Regions from separate parts of the Homo sapiens genome. Here all the other regions are linked to region 2. Evidence: promoter capture Hi-C in 16 types of primary human blood cells and fetal thymus (Javierre and others, 2016). All regions are on one chromosome and are shown on one strand. Each heading gives the region's core, a stretch centred on a gene start or on the middle of the fragment in contact. The rest is flanking DNA. Distances are from core to core; before and after follow the strand shown. Region 1 overlaps ITGA1 (integrin subunit alpha 1). Region 2 holds the start of PARP8 (poly(ADP-ribose) polymerase family member 8). Region 3 holds the start of MOCS2 (molybdenum cofactor synthesis 2).

What was found. The method cuts DNA at HindIII sites, captures the fragments that hold promoters and counts their contacts. A CHiCAGO score of 5 or more calls a contact.
Region 1: a contact is called between a fragment that was not itself captured here and the fragment with the promoter of PARP8 in region 2, in 2 of 17 cell types (monocytes and M0 macrophages). The highest score is 6.0, in monocytes.
Region 3: a contact is called between the fragment with the promoter of MOCS2 here and the fragment with the promoter of PARP8 in region 2, in 1 of 17 cell types (activated CD4 T cells). The highest score is 5.3, in activated CD4 T cells.

What each region holds. Positions count from the first base shown.
Region 1 is chr5:52,808,138-52,810,837 of GRCh38, forward strand. The region is part of intron 1 of ITGA1 (integrin subunit alpha 1); the gene reads left to right. Among named protein-coding and RNA genes, the nearest start is that of PELO-AS1, 8.7 kb to the left of the region's middle. The HindIII fragment of the contact is 1,378 bases long and covers 582-1,959 here.
Region 2 is chr5:50,665,275-50,667,974 of GRCh38, forward strand. It overlaps PARP8 (poly(ADP-ribose) polymerase family member 8), which reads left to right and starts at 1,363. Exons shown (of 26, transcript NM_024615.4): 1 at 1,363-1,912. The coding sequence starts at 1,822. RefSeq lists silencers at 1,206-1,355, 1,406-1,465, 2,158-2,487 and enhancers at 1,638-2,550, 1,986-2,700. The HindIII fragment of the contact is 4,109 bases long and covers 1-2,700 here.
Region 3 is chr5:53,108,507-53,111,500 of GRCh38, forward strand. MOCS2 (molybdenum cofactor synthesis 2) reads right to left here and starts at 1,251. Exons shown (of 7, transcript NM_004531.5): 1 at 745-1,251; 2 at 16-137. MOCS2-DT (MOCS2 divergent transcript) reads left to right here and starts at 1,336. Exons shown (of 2, transcript NR_104654.1): 1 at 1,336-1,642. RefSeq lists a silencer at 990-1,279. The HindIII fragment of the contact is 4,897 bases long and covers 1-2,994 here.

The DNA.
Region 1 (2,700 bases), core at 21-2,520, 2.1 Mb after region 2:
CAATACCAGTACCTGGTATTCACACTGAGGAAAAGATTAAATTACATTCAGTGTATTCTGTTAAAGAAGTCAAATAAATGTAATGTCTTTCAATGATTTTCATCCAAAAATAGTGGTACTTTAAAAAATCTTTAGCTGTCATACCTAGAATGACTGTTCCAGATAACCAGAGTTTTACTATGCCTTAATAGTCTCAGTAATAAAACTCAAATAATTGTTGAAGGATGAATTTTTGTTAAGGAAAAAAATCCCAATAGATTTTAGTTGTACAATTTATTCAGAGATAGGAGGTCCTTCTGAGTTCAAGTCTACGTTCCAGAAGTTTTATGTCTGGAATTTTTCATCAAGTCCTAGTGTAAACATTGACTAGAACTTTTTGTTTGACACCATTGTGAAAAATTGCTCTGTGGATAGAAAACATTTTAATCTTGTGTTTCAGCTCATTTGATCTGATGACCATAATTTATAGTTTATTTTTCCTCCCCAAGTGTGTTGTTGACTATGGTATAATTCTTTTTTTCTTTTTCTTTCTTTCTTTCTTTTTTTTTTTTTTTTTTTTTGTTTGATGAGTTTGAAGAGGAAGCTTAAAATACATTTCAGTACATGGCTCTGAATCACTTAAAATCATAAGAGGTTAAAGCTGTAAGGAACTTTATATATCATCGGACCTAGTTCCTTCATGTTACAGATTTAAGCCAGCCCAGAGAGGGTTGGTAACTTGCTCAAACACAATAGGAGTTTTTCACAGGGTCCACATTCCTGTTTGATATATCTGATTCCAATGTCACCTACTTTTTGTCACCTATTCATATTGAGTCATTTGGGGTAGAGGAACAAGGAACAATGCAGGATTCAAAAATGCCTTAAACCCTCCTTATTTATCAAATTATCATCTTGTGGCAAGGCAGTTTTTCTCTGAGCAGCATTGCTGAGACTCAAACTCAGTTTTGAAGTCTTGTTCATTCCTTGGAGGAGTATTTATATTTCCCTATAGGGAACTCTTCCTGCCTTTCTTCTTCTGAGAACCATTTCATTTTTCTGAAAATCATGTACTAAGTACCTACTATGTGACAGGGACTCTAATAGCCCCCAGTGATCAGAAGTAAAGAAAGATCACAGTCTCTTCCTTGCAAAAAAACACAGTCTACAATGGGGAACGAATGGTAAAGCAGTAGTAATAGCAGTGCAATCTGGCACAGGAACATGGGAGCTCAGAGGGCTAACTCAGCCTGGCTTTAGTGAGGAGGTATTCCCAGAGTTTAAACTGGCAAGTTCCAGAAGCCCACACTGATCTTCCATTAGTTTCTAGAGAGATCAGGTGAAGGGACCTGAGATTATTCCTCTTTTAAGGCCTCTCAACTTTACTTTTTTTTTTTTTTTTTTTGGAGACAAGAGTCTTGCTCTATACCCCAGGCTGGAGTGCAGTGGCCTGATCTTGGCTCACTGCCCCTCTGCCTCCTGGGTTCAAGCAATTCTCGTGCCTCACCCTCCCCAGTAGCTGGGGATTACAGGTGCGTGCCACCACACCCAGCTAATTGTCATATTTTTAGTAGAGACGGGGTTTCACCATGTTGGCCAGGTTGGTCTCAAACTCCTGACCTCAAGTGATCTGCCCATCTTGTCCTCCCCAAGTGGGATTACAGGCGTGAGTCACTGCACCTGGCCTCAACTTCACTTTGGTAATATTTTTCTTCTACAGAGTGGTCTCTGTAATCCCTGATCTCTCTAAATGTTAAATATTTACTGTGGAGTCAACAAACCTGAGAGGAGACATCATGGAGAAGGAGATTCCATTACCTCCTACCCTCATAAGAAAATGAAAATCAAATACAGACCAGGGACCATGACTGAAAGGACTCTGAAAGATTGTGGAACCTTTGTATAATAGTATCCATGTTTTTGTTGTCTCCTCTGCATTTCTTACATGACTAAGCACTGACTGGTTAAACCAGAAAAGGAAGCTTAGCTTCTTTCGTTTTTAGGACAGCAAAGATGGGGATGGTGACAGGGGAGTTTGAGACATTCTGTCCCTTTCCATAGCCATTCCTGGAAGAAAGAATGTCCAGGATTAACTGGTTGGTGGCACAGCCACCTCAGGGAAAGGGAAACTGACCCCTGGGGACTGAAGTCAGGAATAAAGAAGTGACAAGGAGCTAGCTGGGGCCTGGGGAAGGCCCTGGGGCTGGACACTAGAAAGACCCACCGGGGTCTTTTCTATTTTTATATTCAACATTTTATCTTTCGTTGTAAAACTCAGGAAAACACCTTTAACAAACAAAAATAACTTCTCTCTTAAGTTGTTCATTTTACTAAATGGCCAACATGGATTGGATATGGTAGAAGGAAAGAACATTTTCTGCAGAAGGGAGAAAAAAACCACAATCTATTTTATGAGGAGGAATGAACTCTGGGAATAGTTCTCTGACCCTTTGTGTGTCAGTGTGTTCTCAGCCTGAACTGGAAGAAAATGGGATAGCATGTGGAATGTGGGAAAGTGCGAAGACTGATGCAAAATTCACTATCTGCCTCATTAAATACACTAGTAGGTTTTCAAGAGAATGAGTCTGTTATCACCACAGTAAATTTCTCACTCTGGGCCTAACTCCTTATCTAAAACTTAATAGAGCTTAATAAGTTCAAATTTTTCCTGTCTTTCTGGGAATCATTTTCACCTTTATCTCTGATCCTGTACTTTCCCTA
Region 2 (2,700 bases), core at 113-2,612:
AAACAGGAAGCATTTCAGGAGAGGACTGAGCAGGAGATATAGACTGTTGTGACTGTGGCTTTACTACATCAAAGGCTGCAGTGGATCTCAATAATGCAGAATGTTTCCTTTTGTAACTCATAGTGAATATGACTGGACAAGGAAATTATTTTGTAATTTGTTTCCTGAAAGATAAAGGAGTTAGAACATAGGATCTTTCATTGATTCTACAGAATCTTAAGACTCCTTCAGGGATGGCAGTCATTCCTACCGTGCTGAACATCATGTTGTCACGGTCAGAATCAGAACTAAATTGATTAAGGGTCTGAAACAGTTTGGCAACTCTTGGGCACTTATGCTGATAAGAAAAGTGATGAGACAGGGTAATGAAAAGAGGCTGCAAGAAATGACCATTCGTGCATTCAGCCAACATTTAGGCCACCCTCCTGTATTCCAGGCACTGTACATGGCACTGAGTATGCAAAGCAAAAGGAGTCATGGTCTACTGGCGGGAGCCTTCTCAGTGGAGAAAAGATCAACAAGAAAAGTGCCTGCTGGAGACCTCTCCTAGGGCATAAACCAATATAGAGGTGGGGCAGCTACGTCAGCCTGGGGTGTCCTTAGGCAGAACAGAAAGTGAGAATCAGAGCAGTATCTCATTTCTGAACACCTGGATTGTAGCTTTCCCTTGACTGTCAAAGGAGGTGGTTTTAAAAATCAAGCCAAACAGGTTTCCATCTTTTAGGAAGACCCTGGAACGTGCCAGTTGATTCTGACCATTTCTCATGAACAGAAACACCTAGGAAGGGAGAACTGGTGAGTTTCAAGAGGAGGAAGTCCCTCAAAAGGGGCTGTGTTTCGTAAACGGCGCCCCAAAAGGGCTGAACTACTTCGATCTGGAGGAAAAAGACTCAGGCACTGAGGGAAGGGGAGGGTGCACGTCTGGAGTAATTTTAAGGCCTTTTCCGTGTTATGTGATGTGGCAATAAGGAAAGATTTGTTCGTTTTATTATTTTTTTAATTTTTAAAGATTTTCTTTTCCCCCCTTTTCCCCCTCCCAGCCACTCCGGTTTGGGTTTGCCACAAGACTATAATTCCTTTAGAAAGTGGAGTCGAATTCATAAAAGTGATGGGGGGAGGGGCGCGGAGAGGGAAGGCTGGGAGCCCCAGGGAGTCTTCACGACCGCTCAGCTCCCGGCGCGAGTGGAGGTCGGTGTGGGGAGAAGCGGCTCCCGCCCGGGATGGCTAATACTCTGCGAGCCCCGGCAGCCCGCGGCCGGCGGGGTGACTAGGCGGCGGGCGCGGAGGGTCTGCGGCGGGCGGGCGGCGCTGCAGCAGCCTGGGCACGGCTGCCGCCGCCCGCGGGCGCGAGTGTGCGCGGGTGTGGAAGGCCGGCGTGCGAGCCGTGAGGGGTGTGCGCGCGTGAGCCGGAGCGGGGCTCGCCCCTCGCCGGCGCCCGCCGCCCAGCCGGTGATTGCTCTCTGGCTGTCCCCGGCACCTCGGCCCCCACGGCCGTTGGTCCGGGCGGGTGAGGGAGAAAGTGAGACTTGGTGTCATCACCATCCATTGTCAGAAGGGGAGGAAATTGGAATCCAGCAGCGGCGAGCAGCAGCTGGGCGGTCACATCTGGGAATGCAAAGCCGACCTCCCCCTCCTCCTCCTCCTCCCCCTCCTCCTCCTCCTCTTCTCTCACCCAGGATCACTTCCGAAACCACTTCGCCTTCAGCCCCTGCCTCGGCCAGAGGTTTCATTTTTAACTGAATATTTACGAAAGCTGGAAGCGTGCGAGGGGGGTGGGGTGGGGTGGAAATAGCGGCTGCTTCTTTTCCAGGGATTTATTTAATGGGGATGTGTTCAAGGCAAGAGCGAATTCAGAAGGATATCGACGTCGTGATCCAGAAGTCCAGAGCTGAGAAGGACTGCCTGTTTGCAGGTGAGTTCTTGCTTTTCCAGAACCTCGGACCCAGCGCCCCCTTCCCAGTTTTCTGACCGCGACGTCTGTGGCTGGGGGTGGGGTGGAGGGTTGCACGTCCCCATTCTGGGGTTCATTTGGCAACAGCTGCTGCAACGAGCGCGGGAGCCAAAAGGGGGAGGGGGCGCCAGCCTCTCCCCTTCCCCTCCCCCACCGCCAAGTCTGAGGCAGCCACCAGCTTTGAGGGCAGAGCCCGCGTGGCCGGAGCGGGGGTCTAGGCGAAGGGGCAGTGCGTGGTATTTCCAGCCCCGCGTAGTGCCCGAAGCCTCCAAGCACGCTTCCTGGGTTCCAGCAGCGGCGGCAGAGCGGGGTTGGTTTGCGCAATGGGCTGAGCGGCGGCGGCCGGGAATGGAGCCTGCTGCGCTGCGCTGCGCTTGTAAGCTGCGCCCGGCGCCGAGGACCCCCGGGGGGCAGCGCTCGGCCCATCTCCGGCCCCTTCGGCTCCCTCTAGTCCCCTCCGACTGGCAAAGAGAAGGGATTCCTCGGATTCCCAAGGCACCCAGCGCCCCTGCCTGGGGGTCGCCTTTCGTCCATTTTGCTCCCCCGGGATTTTGCTTTCGCTACCGCGAGCCCGGCTGAGGCTGCTTCCGGCCTCCCCTATCGGGAAATTCCCGCTGTTGCCATGGCACCCGGCACTTGTTGCGGGGGGCGGCCTCCCGCTGCACCCAGTCGGGGGCGCGCCGCATCCCCTCGGACGCGGCGCAGAGGGACCTCGCCGCCCTCTAGCCCTTGCCTTCTGCCCGGCCAGG
Region 3 (2,994 bases), core at 1-2,500, 2.4 Mb after region 2:
CAAATTTTTAACTACCCAGGATGTCGAGTTTCTATCTCCTTCCACAGCTGCAACGCTTTTATTTCTTGAGGCACAGAAATGGTCTCTGAACGAACTCCTGTTATTTCAGCACTTTTTGCAAAATACAATACTTCAACCTGAAAGTAAAGAAAATGCTTTTAATAACAACTCATACTCGTTTTCTGACTGTCAATGTTGAGCAGTTTTCTCATTTTCCAAATGTATTGCTTTAATCAAAGACAAATTTTATAAAGAAAATTAAATAACCCGTAAAAAATTTCAGTATACCTACAAGTTCAAATTCTGAAAACTTGTTGTTTTAAATACAATTCAGACTAATTTCTGGATGCCTTTTAGTTTTACAAACTTAAGTGTGCCATCATTAAAATCCTAAGTATTTATCTTCTAGGAAAACATGTTAAGCCTGCCTTAATTGACATAAAAGTATAGCACCTTTTATAAATATGTAAGCAAAGAACAAATGTTTGAGTCAAGAGATGAGTTACACAAATAAAATAAATGAATAAATAAGCGAAAAACCTGTTTCTCACGGTTGTCAAATGACCTTAGATTCCGGTCTGTATAACATCGTCCCCAGACGCTAAGGATTAAGTTATGCAACATAGTAAATCTGACATTTACAGAAGCAAGTAGGTTTGAAACACACGACAGACTGGAATTTGCTAGAACAAACTTGTGCCAGCAGCCTGGTATGTAAGGGATCCGACGAAGTAAAATAGGCACCTGTCACTCCGTGCAAACAACTCTTTACGAAATAATTACAGGTTTGCAAATGATCAAGGGTGTAGAAATCCACAGATGAAGCACAGTTCTTCACAAGAATTCTCCATGAGGTGCATTTCTTTTTAGATTAAAATTTTAGCTTCATCAAAACGAATAATCTGGGAAAGAGGTGGTCATAAAAGGTGGAGGCGCCTTCAGAACGAGTCCGTCCTTGCTGCCGTGAGCTGACAAGAGTTCTCGGAGAGGACCCGACTTCTGCTGGGGCAGTCGCAGTAAAGCCCGGAGACAGGAAGGGCCCGGGGGCGGGGGCGGGGGCGCCCCCGAACCCAAGACGCCGGCCAGGTTGGGGGCTAGTGGGGAGGTCCGACTGACCAAGGCTGGGTATGTGGAGGGAAAGGGCGGGAGAGACACGTCGAGGAGGGCTCCGCACCCAGGCCCGCACGCACACCCGCCACCCTTACCTGGCACAGCGGCACCATCCCGCCTAGGACAGCGGGACCGAATCACGGCCGCAAAGGCGCAGGCGCGGGCTCACCCGGAGCGCAGGCGTAACCCGACGGCGCTCAGCCCCCGCCTGCGCCTGCACGGAGCATGCGCACAACCAGCTCCGCCCCGCGCCGGGCTCTAGCTGTTTCCCTCAGGCGGCCTGTTCCACGCCAGGATTAGTTTTGCTTCGCAGATGGGCCGTGGTGGTGAGAGGAAGCAATCAGTATGGAAATGGAGAAATGGCTTACCATGCATGTCCTTCTCCCCAGGAGGGAGGTCGTGGTGCAGGCGAGCAGACGCCAGACTCCTGGACACTTGCCGCCTGCGTTATGGAGGCTTAGCTAATAACCTTGCAGGGGTCTTCAGGCTTTTCCACTGGCTCACCTTTAGGCTTCTGACACTTTTACCTACGGTATGTGAACCTCGAAAATTTGAGACAGGTCTCAGTTAACTTAGAAAGTTTATTTTGCCAACGTTGAGGACATGCCCGTGACACAGCCTCAGGAAGTCCTGAGGACATGTGCCCAAGGTGGTCAGGGCACAGCTTGGTTTTATACATTTTGGGGAGACAGGAGACATCAATCAATATGTAAAAAGTACATTAGTTCCTTCCAGAAAGGCGGAGACCGTTAAAAGCAAGCCCCGCCCCCCCCAACTGGGGGCTTCCAGGTAGGTAATAGACAGTAGCATTCTTTTGAGTTTCTGATAAGTCTTTCTAAAGGAGGCAATCAGAATATGCATCTATTCTTTGTCAGCAAAAGAGGTGACTTGGATAGAATAGGAGGCAGATTTGCCCTGAGTAATTCCCAGTTTGAAGGGGCCCAAGATTTTTTTCTTTCCCAGGTATATGATTAGTGTTTCTTAAAGACAGAATATCCGCCTGGTCAGAACATTCGAACTGTATGACTTTTCCTGTTTATTGGCTGCTCGGTAATTGTATACTGTCCGTCCAACTTTCCCAATTCTTGCCAACAAGAACTCTTGGCTTTAAATTGCTTGCGTCGTTAAGTGGATGTAAGTTACACGTCCCTTTCCTTGGAGCTCACAGTCCTGGGTAGGAGAGTTTTAAATATGAATGATAATTCCCTGTAATACTAAGGATCTGTGTTACATTTCAAGGGTGGAAGGGGAAAGTGGTTGTGTCACCTGGGGAGTGAGAAGATGCTGAGAAGGTAAATCTGCTAGAATGGTGGCAGTAAATGACAAGAGTGGGAGTAGAGCACGAAGAAATTTCACTTGCCTCTGACAAGCCACAGGGATATGAAGAAGCATAATAAGTTCACAGAAGGGCAAGTAGTTGGCAAGGCAGGTGTGCCTCCAGCAAAGGAGGTGATGAGAAGTGAGGCTGGAGAGTCCTTGGTAGGAAAAATTGACAAGGAGCAATGAATACCAATGTGTATCCTGGTAAAGTTGCTAAACATAAAGGATAAAGACTATATTCACACCCAGGCATAAAAACAAGGGAATGACAATAGTGGCCTTAGACTCCTCAGTGGCATCTGATGGCAATGTGCAGTGTGTAAAAAAGGCTGAGAACAAAAGCATGATCCCATAATATTACAGCCAAACTGGTGGGGCAGGATTCTCCTAAATCAGCAAAAACTCAAAAAACACAATACCCAAGAACCCTTCTTAAAAATCTTTCTTGGGCAAAAAGTCCACTCAATCAAGAGTAATCAAAGTAAATAACTCAGCAATAAAGGTATTAATATGGGAAAAATGAAAAACTAAAAAAACTGGCATTGAGATTTTAACCCATTCAAA